3 separate regions of the Homo sapiens genome follow, and regions 1 and 3 are each linked to region 2. The links are contacts of gene promoters, found by promoter capture Hi-C in blood cells and fetal thymus (Javierre and others, 2016). All regions are on one chromosome and are shown on one strand. The core of a region is centred on a gene start or on the middle of the fragment in contact, and the rest is flanking DNA. Distances in the headings are between cores, read along the strand shown. Region 1 holds the start of DENND2C (DENN domain containing 2C). Region 2 has its middle 170 kb from the start of TRIM33. Region 3 holds the start of AMPD1 (adenosine monophosphate deaminase 1).

Region 1 (3,962 bases), core at 525-3,024, 330 kb before region 2:
GTGTAACCCTGATGGCATGTTTGTACTAGCTCTGGTGTAAGAATCTCTTCCTGATTTCTGAAGTTGAAGTTTTGTTTGTTGAGTATTTGTGAACCCTTTAAAGAACCAGATTTTATTTTACCTTGGCCTCCTCATCATCAAAATAGTACAAATTGCTACATTAAACACTGTATTCTCAGACTTCAAAGGGCATTAACTACCATTATGTATATCTCCATCTTACCCATGAGAGGGCAGTAGAATACATACATGTGAATTCATTTATTAATCTATAAATTTGGTTTCATACGTGATACTTGGAATTCAACCTGCCTTATTTTGCCAAATAATCTTCCTGAATGCAGGGGTCAAAAAATACATTTCTGGGCTGGGTGCAGTGGCTCATGTCTGTAATCCCAGCACTTTGGGAGGCTGAGGCAGGAGGACTGCTTGAGCTCGGGAGTTGGAGACCAGCCTGGGCAACATAGCGAGACCCTGTCTCTACAAAAAAATAAAAATAAAAATATTAGCCGGGGGTGGTGGTGCATGCTTATAATACTAGCTGCTTGGGAGGCCGAGGTGGGACGATTCTTTGAGCCTAGGAAGTTGAGACTTCAAGTGAGCTATGATTGGGCCACCGCACTCCAGTGTGAGTGACACAAAGAGACCCTGTCTCAATAAATAAATAGATAGACACATTATATAAGAATTTTTTTTTTTTTGGTGGGGGAAGCCCATAATGATCAGTGTGCAAAATTTACTACAAACAATATCCACATTTATTTCCTCATTGGGACATGATTTTTTTTAAGTATGTCATTACTTTTTTTTCCCCCATCATAGAATGTAATTTCTGTTTTACTGTCTACAGGTGATAGTTTCACAACGGTTTGGGATATGCTACCTTTATTGTTTGGGTTAAGTTTGCTTGTGACAGTCATCCGTGATACGTAACTAAACACCTCTCTTTCTGGTAGTCTTCTATTTTGGTACCTCTGTGTGAACAAATGTAGGAAGAGTTTGGTCACCAGACCCAAGAGGCTCTGGCTGGGTGGGGTGGGGTGGGGTGGGGCGGGGCGAGGCGGGGTGGGGTGGTTAGCGAGTGCCTGGGAAACAGGCTCAACTGATCCTTGTCCCGCAGCCTCGGTGAAACTGGGTTACAGCTTGCAGTAGGCACAACACCACGCACATACCTAAGCAAGAGCGTGTTGCAGGCGGAGCGCTTAGGCATGTGTGTCTCAACAGGGCGTGGGGGCTGACCTCACGCACTGGGAGTATCAAGGCACCCCCGTTCTGAGATTCCAAGCCTGAGGTGCCGCGAGAGTTATTTGCTTCTCTTGACGTTTCAAGTTGGCACCGTAGTGCAATTGTTTGCTCACTGAGGTCAGCCTAGGAAACAGTGCTTGGATTCCCTGATTAAGCCAGGCTTTATCTTGTTGAGTAGTTGTGAAGAGTAAACCTTCACATGAAGCATAGGGCCGTCTCCGTGGGGCCGATGCGACGGCAGGCGAAGGCGATGGAGCTCTGGCTCGAGGGCTTGGCCGGACGACGGTGACACTGGTCGCCCGCCTGCTGGAACTGCAGTGACCGAGGTCCTGGCAAGGTTCTGGCCATACAGCGGACTTGAGGCGTGGTGGTTCCCCTCACCGCCGGCCGGGGCGGTGTCGGAGGCGGGCATAGCGTGAGGGGTGGGAATAGGAGCCAATAAGAACTGAGCCTTGCCAGGGAGGGCGGGGCTAGGGGGTGGGGCTGCAGCCGGGACGGGGCCTTCGGCAGGGCCTGCGGGGGCGGGACGGAGCGGACCCGAGTGATACCCGGGAGACTAGCTTGGCCACAGGAGACAACGTTGAGGTACAGACAGGTAAGAGTCGGGGTGATTCGGCGCGGGGTTTTAAGCCGCAGGGGCTTCGGACTCTCGGGGCTGTCGGCATCACCCTTCTGGGCGTCGGGTGCGGGGCTGTGGCGCCGCGGCGTAGTCCTCGGACGGTGCGAGCCGAGCTGGCGGAGGTGGTGTCTCCGCGCCCCGCTGTCTCGGCACCTCCTCCGTCCGGAGGAGCAACCGGTTGTTGGGCCCAGCTTTGGGACGTCCTCTCGTGGCCGCACGGGTTGTGGCGGAGCCTGGCTGAAGACCTCCTCGCTACCTCAGGGGCTTGGGGACCCCTAGGCTGGGCGCCGCTCTCTGCTGGGGAAGAGGGAGGGAGCGCCCGGCAGCCTGGGGAAACGCGGGCTTTCTCCAAAATTAGCCAGTGAGCTTGAACTTCGACATGCTGGGACGATGCACTTCCAAACAATATTTTGCTTTTTTTGGTGTTTTGATTCTTAACAGCATCTAATACGCACAATACCGAAAGTTGTCAAGTAGAATTTTAATTTAAAAGTCTGACAGTGGAACACCTAAGAGCTTTTGAGTAACTAGAGCTGTATAGCAGCTGATGATTAGATTATGAGTCAAAAGGCTCAAGTCTAGGGCCAGAACCCGCGGAACCAGATGTGATACCTCGGCCAAATTAACTTCCTGGGCCTCTCTTTCCGTAACTGTGAAACTGGCAAGTTCATGCCTATGGGTATTCTCAGGGTCAAATCAGATGAGTGACAGTATTCTACAAATGTCAGATATTTGAACGTGCGTGTGGAGCGTGTATATTCTGTGAAGCAACTACTACTTGCCTGGTACATAGTAGGCACTTTACAAACGTTTACCCTAAAGCTAGTGATTCTTCTGCAGTGTTTTAGATAAAGTGATAGATCCTTGCTTACTGTGTAAATAAGTTGTTTAAACTTTTCCCACAAAGTGACCCCCATTGTTTGAGTGTGTCCTATTTTTAAATGATTGATGAAATTTTCTAGAATAGCACAGTGGTGTTATCTATACACTGTTGCTGAATCATTTACCGCGAAGTCTGTAGCAATCAAATAATCTACTTCTTTGTCTTAGCTAAATAGTTGTAGTTTAAGATACCTGCTAAAGTAAGCTGGGAATATTGTTCCAAATCAAGACTTTAATTTGTTTTTGTGAATTGACGGGCTGCTTATAGGAAGATTTAAATCTTCCAAAATATTGTTAATATATAGCCATATTTTTTCATACAGCCTTTATTATAGACGTTTTTGTTCTTTACTATGGATATGTGTGCGAGGGATTTTAGCGGGGAGATGGGAAATAAAAAAGAAAATGGCAGTTTTGTAACCTGTAGGCTTTTGCTGGGGATACTTGTAGGCCTGTTCTGAGTTTGCCAGGCAGAAACCAGGAAATGTAGTAATTATGTGTCTTGGTCTTTCATTAGTTGGGGTGTGTGTGTGTGTGTGTGTGTGTGTGTGTGTGTTGAATGTGGCAGTACGTTTTTTAAATGCAGCAATAAAGGAAGAATATTTATTTTTCTTAATGACAATAAGCAGTTTTCTAAAGCTGGAAATTATATTACTTTTAAATGGTCTGTAGTGAGTCTTAAGTTATAGGCAAGAATTTTAGACCACTGGATACCAAGATCAAATTAAATGAAGTAGTAGAGGGAAAGTTACTAGTGAATGTAATTTTTGTGTGTGTTGCTTTAGAAGTTTTACTTAAACATGTTTCAGCAATTCAGTGGAGGATGGGTCTTTTGAAGCTACTTTAAAACATGAGTTTTAAACGTACTCCATGTATAAATTTTTCTGTGATTTACAATTTCTTGATCTTGGAGGTCTGAAACCTTACATTCACATTGTTTTTTGAGGGCCTACTACACAATAGGCACAAGATTATATTTATGTAAGAGCAGTATGTAATTCCTGTCATCTAGGAGATTCCATTCTACCAAGTGGGCTAAAATAAGTACTGAAAAAACAAAAGCTGTTTTTAAAGCGGATGGTAACAATAACAACATCAGCTATCATTCATTGGTACCTAGTCTGTGCCAGGCAGTATTCTAAATTCTTTACATGTATTAGCTTACTTAATCCTCACAACAGCACCATGAGGGATGTTATTATGATTATCTCATTAA
Region 2 (3,828 bases), core at 1-2,500:
TGGTATCCTCCCCACCTCCTTTAAGGGCATGTCCTGGAGATGACCCATGCTGTGGTTTGAGTGATGGTGTCCCCTCCAACATTTACATATTGAAACTTAATCCTCATAGTGGCAGTATTAAGAGGTGGGGCCTTTTGGGAGATGCTTAGATCATGAGGGCTTCTCCCTTGTGAATAGGAATAAAGCCTTCATAAAAGAGCCTTCACAGAGAGTCTGGCCCTTTTTTGCCCTTCTGTCATGTGAGGACATAGCATTTTTCACCTCTGGAGGATGCTGCAACAAGGCACCATCTTGGAAGCAGAGAGCAGCCCTCACTGACAGCAAACCTACTGGTGCCTTGATCTTGAACTTCCCAGCCTCCAGAACTGTGATAAATAAATTCCTGTTCTTCACAAGTTACCCGGTCTCAGGTATTTTGTTATAGCAGCACAATGGATGAAGATAGCCCACCTTTCTTCTTTCACTTCATTGGCCAGAGCTGGTTATATAACCATATCAGCTGAAAGGAGGCTGGGTTAGAGAGAACAAGAGAGTGGATATTGATGGAGAACTTCAATTTCTACCCCAGACTTCATCAGTTAGCCCCCATCAAGTCAGGTTGGATCATTTTTATTACCATTCCAGCCCTCTTGTCTATTATAACTACCATGATTATCTTGTCTTTTGTAGTTAAGTGCCTGAAATCAGCTTCTGCTATTCTGGTATCTTTCCTTTTCCATTAAAATCAGGGATCCCATTTCAACTGCTTACAATTGCATCTTTAGTTTACGGAAATCAGTCACAAGACTGCTTCTCAGAGATAGAGGTGCTCCCTCACCAATCTGGGCCCTCTTCTGGGCCCTCTTGAGAGAGAATTAGCAGATGAATGGGTAGGTGACACATGATAAATCCTCTCCAGCACTTCTATATTCCGAAATTTTTGGATTATTTCTTCCATTGTTTCATGGAATTTCATTTCACATGAGCCACTGTTGAGCCCACATTTCAAAACAACTGACAGGCAGCAATTAGGGCCACTTGCAATGGCTGGAGATAGCACACTGTCTCCTGATTTCTGGTGAGCATACTCCTGATTAATTTCAGGCTGATTTAAAATAATGCACGGTGCTGGACACTGTGGTGCACCACTGTATCCCCTCTCAGAAATGAAGGACTTACTCTCCCAGCTGCTGGGAGTGGGCCCTCAGCCAGCAGCTCACTCTGGGGATGCCTTGAGTGAAGAAATGTCCCTAGCCCAAGGTCATGTCCCCATCATGAAGCAGCCACATCCAACGACTGGTCAAAGTTGGGTTAACAAAGGCTGGCTCCTTGGTTCCAACTCAGAAGAGCTCTAAATGACCATCTAGCTCCAGAGCTATGCTAATTGTGCGCACAGCACAACTGCTTCCTTGCCCAAGGCTGCTTCTGTCCCTTCTGCTCCACAGGGGTGGTCTCAAGCTCACTTCCTGATAAAGGTCTTGCTTGCTAATCTCCACCTTAGAATCTGCTTATCTGAGTCTTTTGGTGGGGATTTAACTTTTTAAGTAATCAAAAGCTCCACTTCCTGCTTCCAGGTCATGCGAGAGTCTGACTCTATTTACAGACTTATGAGCCATGAGTGACGGCGTGGAGGAAAGAGGCATGAGCAGAGCTGGCTTCTTTCTGTGAGGAAGTCTGTGCACAGAGTTAGAGCATCTTCAAACTACGCAGGAGCAGCCTCATCAGACAAGGGAGGGACATGCCTTTTAGCTGGCAAGAGAGACCCGGAGGGTTCCATGTTTGGTGTTCTATGAGTCTCCGAGATCTTCCCAAATGTCCTTATTACAATTTTGGGGGTCGCTGTCTTTTTTTGGGGCGGGGACATGGTTTTTCTCTGTCGTCCAGGATGGAGTGCAGTGGTGCAGTCTTGGCTCACTGCAGCCTCAACCTCCCAGGCTAAGTGATCTTCCCACTTCAGCTTTCTGAATAGCTGAGACTACAGGTATGCAACACCATGCTCAGTTAATTTTTTTTGTAGAGATGAGGTCTCAGTATATTGTCCAGGCTAGTCTTAAACTCCTGAGCTCAAGTGATCCTCCTGCCTTGACTTCCCAAAGTGTAGGATTATAGGCGTGAGCCATCGTGCCCCATGTAGGGGCCACAGTCCTTTCTGAACAATGCCCTATCCTTTATATAACATACCTAGGGAGTTTTGATATAGAAGTTAAGAAATTACTTAGGCAGATAGTGAGGGTAGGGAAGTCCTCAGTAAGATTTTCCTTTTAATGAAAAGCAGCCCCAAATCATTTTCCCTTCTAACAAAGAGCAGCCTGTAAAATTGAGCTGATAGATACCGGCAGTTGTGCCAATCATGTTCAAAATGGTGGCCCCATCTTCCCTTCTCTTTATCAGCCACGTGTACAGTAAAAAGGAGACAAGGTGGCACGGGTCAGCAGGAGAGTTCATTTACATAATAAGATTAGGGCAGGGTAGCCAGCCTTCCCCGGGGCTGTGTAAACATCATACCTGATCCAACCAATCTGTGAGCCCTACGTAAATCAGGCGACATCTCCTCAAGCTGGACTATAAAACCCAGTGCCTCCTCCACCAGCTGGTCATTTTCTGTTGGGAGACCCCTCTCTAGAGAGAGAGCTGTTTCTATTTCTCTTCTCTTCTCTCTATTAAATCTCTGCTCCTAAACTCCTCGTGTGTCTCCCTGTCCTAAATTTTCCCGGCGCGAGATGACGAACCCCAGGGTATATACCCTGGACCATGTAGCTGCTTCAGTATGTCACCTCAGCAGATGTTGAAATTTGGCAATGCACTTCTGTGCTTGGCTTTCAGCTATGCTAGCCTTAAAAGACTGTAAATAAGATATCATTTTAGCACATTACTGGAAAGTCTTTGAGTTGGACATTTAGAGATTTAAGCTTGTCTTCTTTTTTTTTTTTTTTTAACTCTCTTGTTCTCTTGGGAAAAGCTACATTTACAACAGTCTGTATGACTCAAGCTCTTCATTTCATTCTATGCAAGTAGCGATATGGTCTTCAAAGTTTTGCCTTAATGAATTCTTCATTCCAGGTGACTATAAGTGAGCATTTAATTTGAGCAATTTACCACTGTGAGCCACTGACTGCCAGATTCCCTGAATATCAACTGGATTTTAGTATTCTGACTAGACTTATAACCAATCTTCCGGCAAACTCTCCATTTCCTTGTGGCTCTGTCTTGTTGTAAATTTCTTTACTAGTTGGGGTTCTTCAGTGCAAACAACAGTAACCCACTTTGGATGACTTAATCAGAAAAGGAAATGATTTAGGGAGGATATTGGATAGCTCACAGAGACTGCAGTGGGGCTGGAGAACCAGGTTTAGAAAATGAGCAGGAGCCAGGGTAGGATGGGGTGGGGTATACTATGGCCACCCCCACAGGATGCAGATACTCCTGCTTGGACCAACACAGGACGCTGGATGTTACCACTGGCGTCATTTGAATGAAATTTCAGCTATCCCCTGCTTTTTTGTTTCACTAATGAACAAAGCATTGAGCAGAATTAGCTGATTGGCAATACTTGGGTCATGTGACTCATGACCTCAGATGTCATGGAGAGTAAGTATCTGGCCTTTTGGACTTTTGGAGAATTAGTGGGTGTGATGTCTCCGACCAAATCCATACAATGGGAGAGCCTCTGGCATATAAAGTAGGTTCATAAGATGCAGAGCAGAAACCGAACAAAACCAAACCAAGTTCATTACATCCCTCTCCCTCTTTTCTAATAGATTTCCAGTCATTTCCACTTGGATACCCGACAGGCTGCTCAAGCTCCCCATATCAAAACTAGAGTCGTCATCTAACCGAATATGCTTCTTC
Region 3 (4,119 bases), core at 1,596-4,095, 360 kb before region 2:
TGGAGGCAGGGGAAATAATTAGGAATCTATTACAATTATCCAACTTTGAGGTAACTCATGACTTATCAGGTAGAATTACATTGGCTTCTAATAATAAAAAAAACTGACTAATCAGTGACTAAAACAAATTTACTTTTCCCTTTTTTTTTTTTTTTTTTTTTGAGATGGAGTCTTGCTTTGTCACCAGGCTGGAGTGCAGTGGTGTGATCTCAGCTCATTGCAACCTCCACCTCCCGAGTTCAAGTGATTCTCCTGCCTCAGCCTCCCGAGTAGCTGGGACTACAAGCATGCACCACCACACCCAGCTAATTTTTGTATTTTTAGTAGAGACGGGGTTTCACCATGTTGGCCAGGATGATCTCGATCTCTTGACCTCGTGATCTGCCTGCCTCGGCCTCCCAAAGTGCTGGGATTACAGGCATGAGCCACTGCGCCCAACCATTTTTCTTATGTATCAAGAAGTCTTGCTGGGTATGGTGATGCATGTTTGTACTCCCAGCTACTCAGGAGGCTTGGGTAGGAGGATCACTTGAGTCCAGGAGTTCTGGGCTATAGCAATCTATGCTGATCAAGTGTCCACACTAATTTCAACATCAACAGGGTGACCCTCCAGGAGCGGGGGACCACCAAGTTGCCTAAGGAGTGAACTAGCCCAGGTCTGAAACAGAGCAGGTCAAAACTCCTGTGCTGATTTTAGTAGTAGGATCACTCCTGTCAATAACCACTACACCCTGGCCTGAGCAACATAGTGAGACCCTGTCTCTTAAAAAAATTCCTTAATTAAACAAGAATTCTAAATATGGGAAGTCCTGGACTAATATGGTGGCTTTAGGATGCCATCAGGGACCCTAATTATTTGTTTCTGTTCAGATAGTCTTCATGTGGCTCTTGTCCTGCTCACCATTTGTGTTAAAACAATGGTTGGTTTGGAGGCCCCTATCCACATATTTCCTTTTTCAGGCAGGAAGAAGAGGAAGGGCAAAAGGCAAAACATATGCCAGCTGAGCTGGTCCCTTTTAAAAGAACTTTTGGAGACATCCCACCCAGCAATTCTGCTTACATCACTTTGGCCAGGCTGTGTCAAATGGCCGCTTCTAGCCACAAAGGATTCTAGCAAATGCTGTTTTTTGGCTGAGCACATTAATGCTCAAACCAAAGAAGTTTTTGTTTGTAAGAAAGGTAGGGAAAATGATCTTTGGGTAGGCAACTAGGGTATTTACACAATTGGAATGAGAAAATTGGAGTGTAACTTATATAAAGATAGGAATTACTGAAGGAGAAGCAGGTTCATGGAGGAAGATGCTTGGTTTGGATGTATCAATTTGTGGATACTGTTGGGAAATCCAGGTAAAAATGTAACAAAAAGGAGTTGGAAAGAAATGAACAAATATTTTGGTTCAGTAACACCTTTGTAATGTGTTGCAATATTGTTGATTGAGAGGTTGGCCATAAGGCTAAGCACTAAAATATTGTTAAGTTTTGCCAACAAAAAGGCTTGTCCCAATTTTCAAAAAGAAATAGTTAATAGTAAAAAGATCATTTGGTCTATGCCCATAATTCTGTTGCTAATCTGAAGTGCCAAGCTCATCTTCAATATAAGCTGTTATAATTTAAAATTTCTGCTGAGTCTAGCAGCGTACTTTCTTTACCTAGCAGCAACTATCAAATATTTAGTCATAACTGGCCGGGCGCAGTGGCTCACGCCTGTAATCCCAGCACTTTGGGAGGCCAAGGCAGGTGGATCATGAGGTCAGGAGATCAAGACCATCCTGGCTAACACAGTGAAACCACATCTCTACTAAAAATACAAAAAATATTAGCCGGGCATGGTGGCAGGCGCCTGTAGTCCCAGCTACTCGGGAGGCTCAGGCAAGAGAATGGCGTGAACCCGGGAGGCAGAGCTTGCAGTGAGCCGAGATCGCGCCACTGCACTCCAGCCCGGGCAACAGAGCGAGACTCTGTCTCGAAAAAAATATATGTATATACACATATATATACATATATACATATATATACACACACATATATACAGTCATAACTAAGACTGTGTGTTATTATGGAAAGAGCGTGAGATTTGGGTCCAGAGAGCCTTGGCTTTGCCATTTATGATGAACAGAATGACTTTGAGCAAGATACCTGTCAGAGCCCCAGTTTTCTTATTTGGGAAACAGGGATAAGGTATTACTTGCCTTACAGGATTGTAATTAGTATCAAATAGATAATGTTTGCCAAATGTTTTACATACAATAAAATGTTATACAAAACAAAGCTATTGTTCTTATTATAACAATAGGTAGAGAAGTGGTAACTGGATACTCTGGAGGACAGTTGAGTTTCTGTAAAAGACTTGAAGTAAATTTAACACTTAATTCATTAAACTGTCAACTGAAGTTCTGCTAAGTCAGACACATTACTAATAAAAACATGCATTCCTGAGCGTGTGTGCGTGTGCGTGTGTGTCTGTTGAGAGCTTGATGAATGTACCAGCATATTCACCAACCACAGAAAGCTGTTTGCGTGATGTGAAACCCTGAGGATCATAGCTTCAGAAACCGGAAAGACTTCACTGTATTTCACTAGGGTGGGATATCACCATCAGTGGTCCTACACTTGCCAAAGATCCAGTCTGTAAGAAGATTTAGAGAGTATTGAAATGCAATTTTTGGCCCACCACAGATATCTTCTAATCCCAAAGTAAAGACTGAAAGCTTCACCTGTTTTTCACTATCAAATGCCTCAAGCTATAAATAGGTCCAAAGCTCATCTCTCTCCACTTAGCAGAGAAGAATCAAATTTCCGGGGGCAAAGCAAAATAATAAAATGAATGTCAGGATATTTTATAGTGTCAGTCAGTCACCCCACAGTCTCCTCTCTCTTCTTTTCTACTGTGCTATCCTAGAATCAAGGATTTCAGCAACAATGCCTCTGTTCAAACTCCCAGGTAGGTGTACAAAGTGTTTGGAGAGCTCAGTTGTTGTTGTTTTTTTTTTTTTTTGACAAGCAACTGTTCCTTTAGCTACCATATCAGCTTTGATCATTCATTTAGGGTTCGTGATAGCTTTAACATACATTTCAGGAAAACACAAAATATTTTCAAGGGTTTTTTGTTTGTTTTTAGTTTTGGGATGTGGGTAAGTTTCTAAAACTGTTATCATGTATATTGCATCTTTGATGATCCCAGTAGAAAACTCTGTGAAATATTTAATATCTATTCTGCTAGTCTAAACAAAACCTGTGCTGCCATAGCTCTGAGACGGCTTCTACATAATGACTCTAGCTATGGTATTGGCTGAAAATCATGAACATGACAAAAATAACCCATGTGTGTATTCTGATGGTTCACGAGAATAGCTTTCTGTTGTCCAGGTTTGTACGCAGAGTAATTTTTAAAATAATAATGTTATAATTTTTAAATGATAAAAGCAATACATGTTTCATGTGAAATAGAAATTGTGCTGAAAAAATAAAAGTAATAAACATTCGTTTTGAAAGTTGGGAAATTCAGTAAAAGTAATAATTTTATTTTTTACTTATTTATTTATTTTTTGAGACAGGGTGTCACTCTGTTGCCCAGGCTGGAGTGCAGTGGCACGATCACGATTCACTGCAGCCCCAATCTTCTGGGATCTGGTGATCCTCCCACCTCAGCCTCCCGAGTAGCTGGGACTACAGGCACTTGCCACCACGCCCAGCTAGTTTTTGTATTTTCTGTAGAGACAGGGTTTCGCTATGTTGCCCAGGCTCATCTTAAACTCCTGAGCTCAAGCAATCTGCCTGCCTCAGCCTCCCAAAGTGCTGGGATTACAAGTGTTAGCCACTGCACCCAGCCAAAAGTAATAATTTTAAAAATCTGCACATCCATTATCCAAAGATATTCACTCTTAACATTTTAGTGTTTTTTTTTCTTTTCAATCTATTTTCTGTGTAAAATTAAAGAGTTTTTTTTAAAAAGGCACTGTTATTATATTGCACATGTAATTTTATATCCTGCTTTTGGCAGGATAATGTTTTGGCTTAACTTTACAACTTATCCTTTTACCATGGTATCCCAAACCTTTCCTAAAAACCATTTTAAAAGACTGCATATTCTATTTTCTTAATTAATCCCTTAGGTTCTTT

Evidence for each region. The method cuts DNA at HindIII sites, captures the fragments that hold promoters and counts their contacts. A CHiCAGO score of 5 or more calls a contact.
Region 1: the fragment with the promoter of DENND2C here is called in contact with a fragment that was not itself captured in region 2 in 15 of 17 cell types (naive B cells, total B cells, erythroblasts and 12 more); the score reaches 11.0 in naive B cells.
Region 3: the fragment with the promoter of AMPD1 here is called in contact with a fragment that was not itself captured in region 2 in 2 of 17 cell types (total B cells and erythroblasts); the score reaches 7.1 in total B cells.

The regions. Positions count from the first base shown.
Region 1 is chr1:114,667,861-114,671,822 of GRCh38, reverse strand. DENND2C (DENN domain containing 2C) reads left to right here and starts at 1,774. Exons shown (of 21, transcript NM_001256404.2): 1 at 1,774-1,840. LOC124904354 (a long non-coding RNA gene) reads right to left here and starts at 1,412. Exons shown (of 2, transcript XR_007066465.1): 1 at 1,173-1,412; 2 at 869-974. RefSeq lists an enhancer at 1,401-1,560 and a silencer at 1,681-1,770. The HindIII fragment of the contact is 6,814 bases long and covers 1-3,962 here.
Region 2 is chr1:114,337,334-114,341,161 of GRCh38, reverse strand. No RefSeq gene overlaps it. Among named protein-coding and RNA genes, the nearest start is that of TRIM33, 170 kb to the left of the region's middle. The HindIII fragment of the contact is 3,280 bases long and covers 1-2,890 here.
Region 3 is chr1:114,694,272-114,698,390 of GRCh38, reverse strand. It overlaps AMPD1 (adenosine monophosphate deaminase 1), which reads left to right and starts at 2,845. Exons shown (of 16, transcript NM_000036.3): 1 at 2,845-2,941. The coding sequence starts at 2,920. It also overlaps the pseudogene RN7SL432P. The HindIII fragment of the contact is 1,819 bases long and covers 2,711-4,119 here.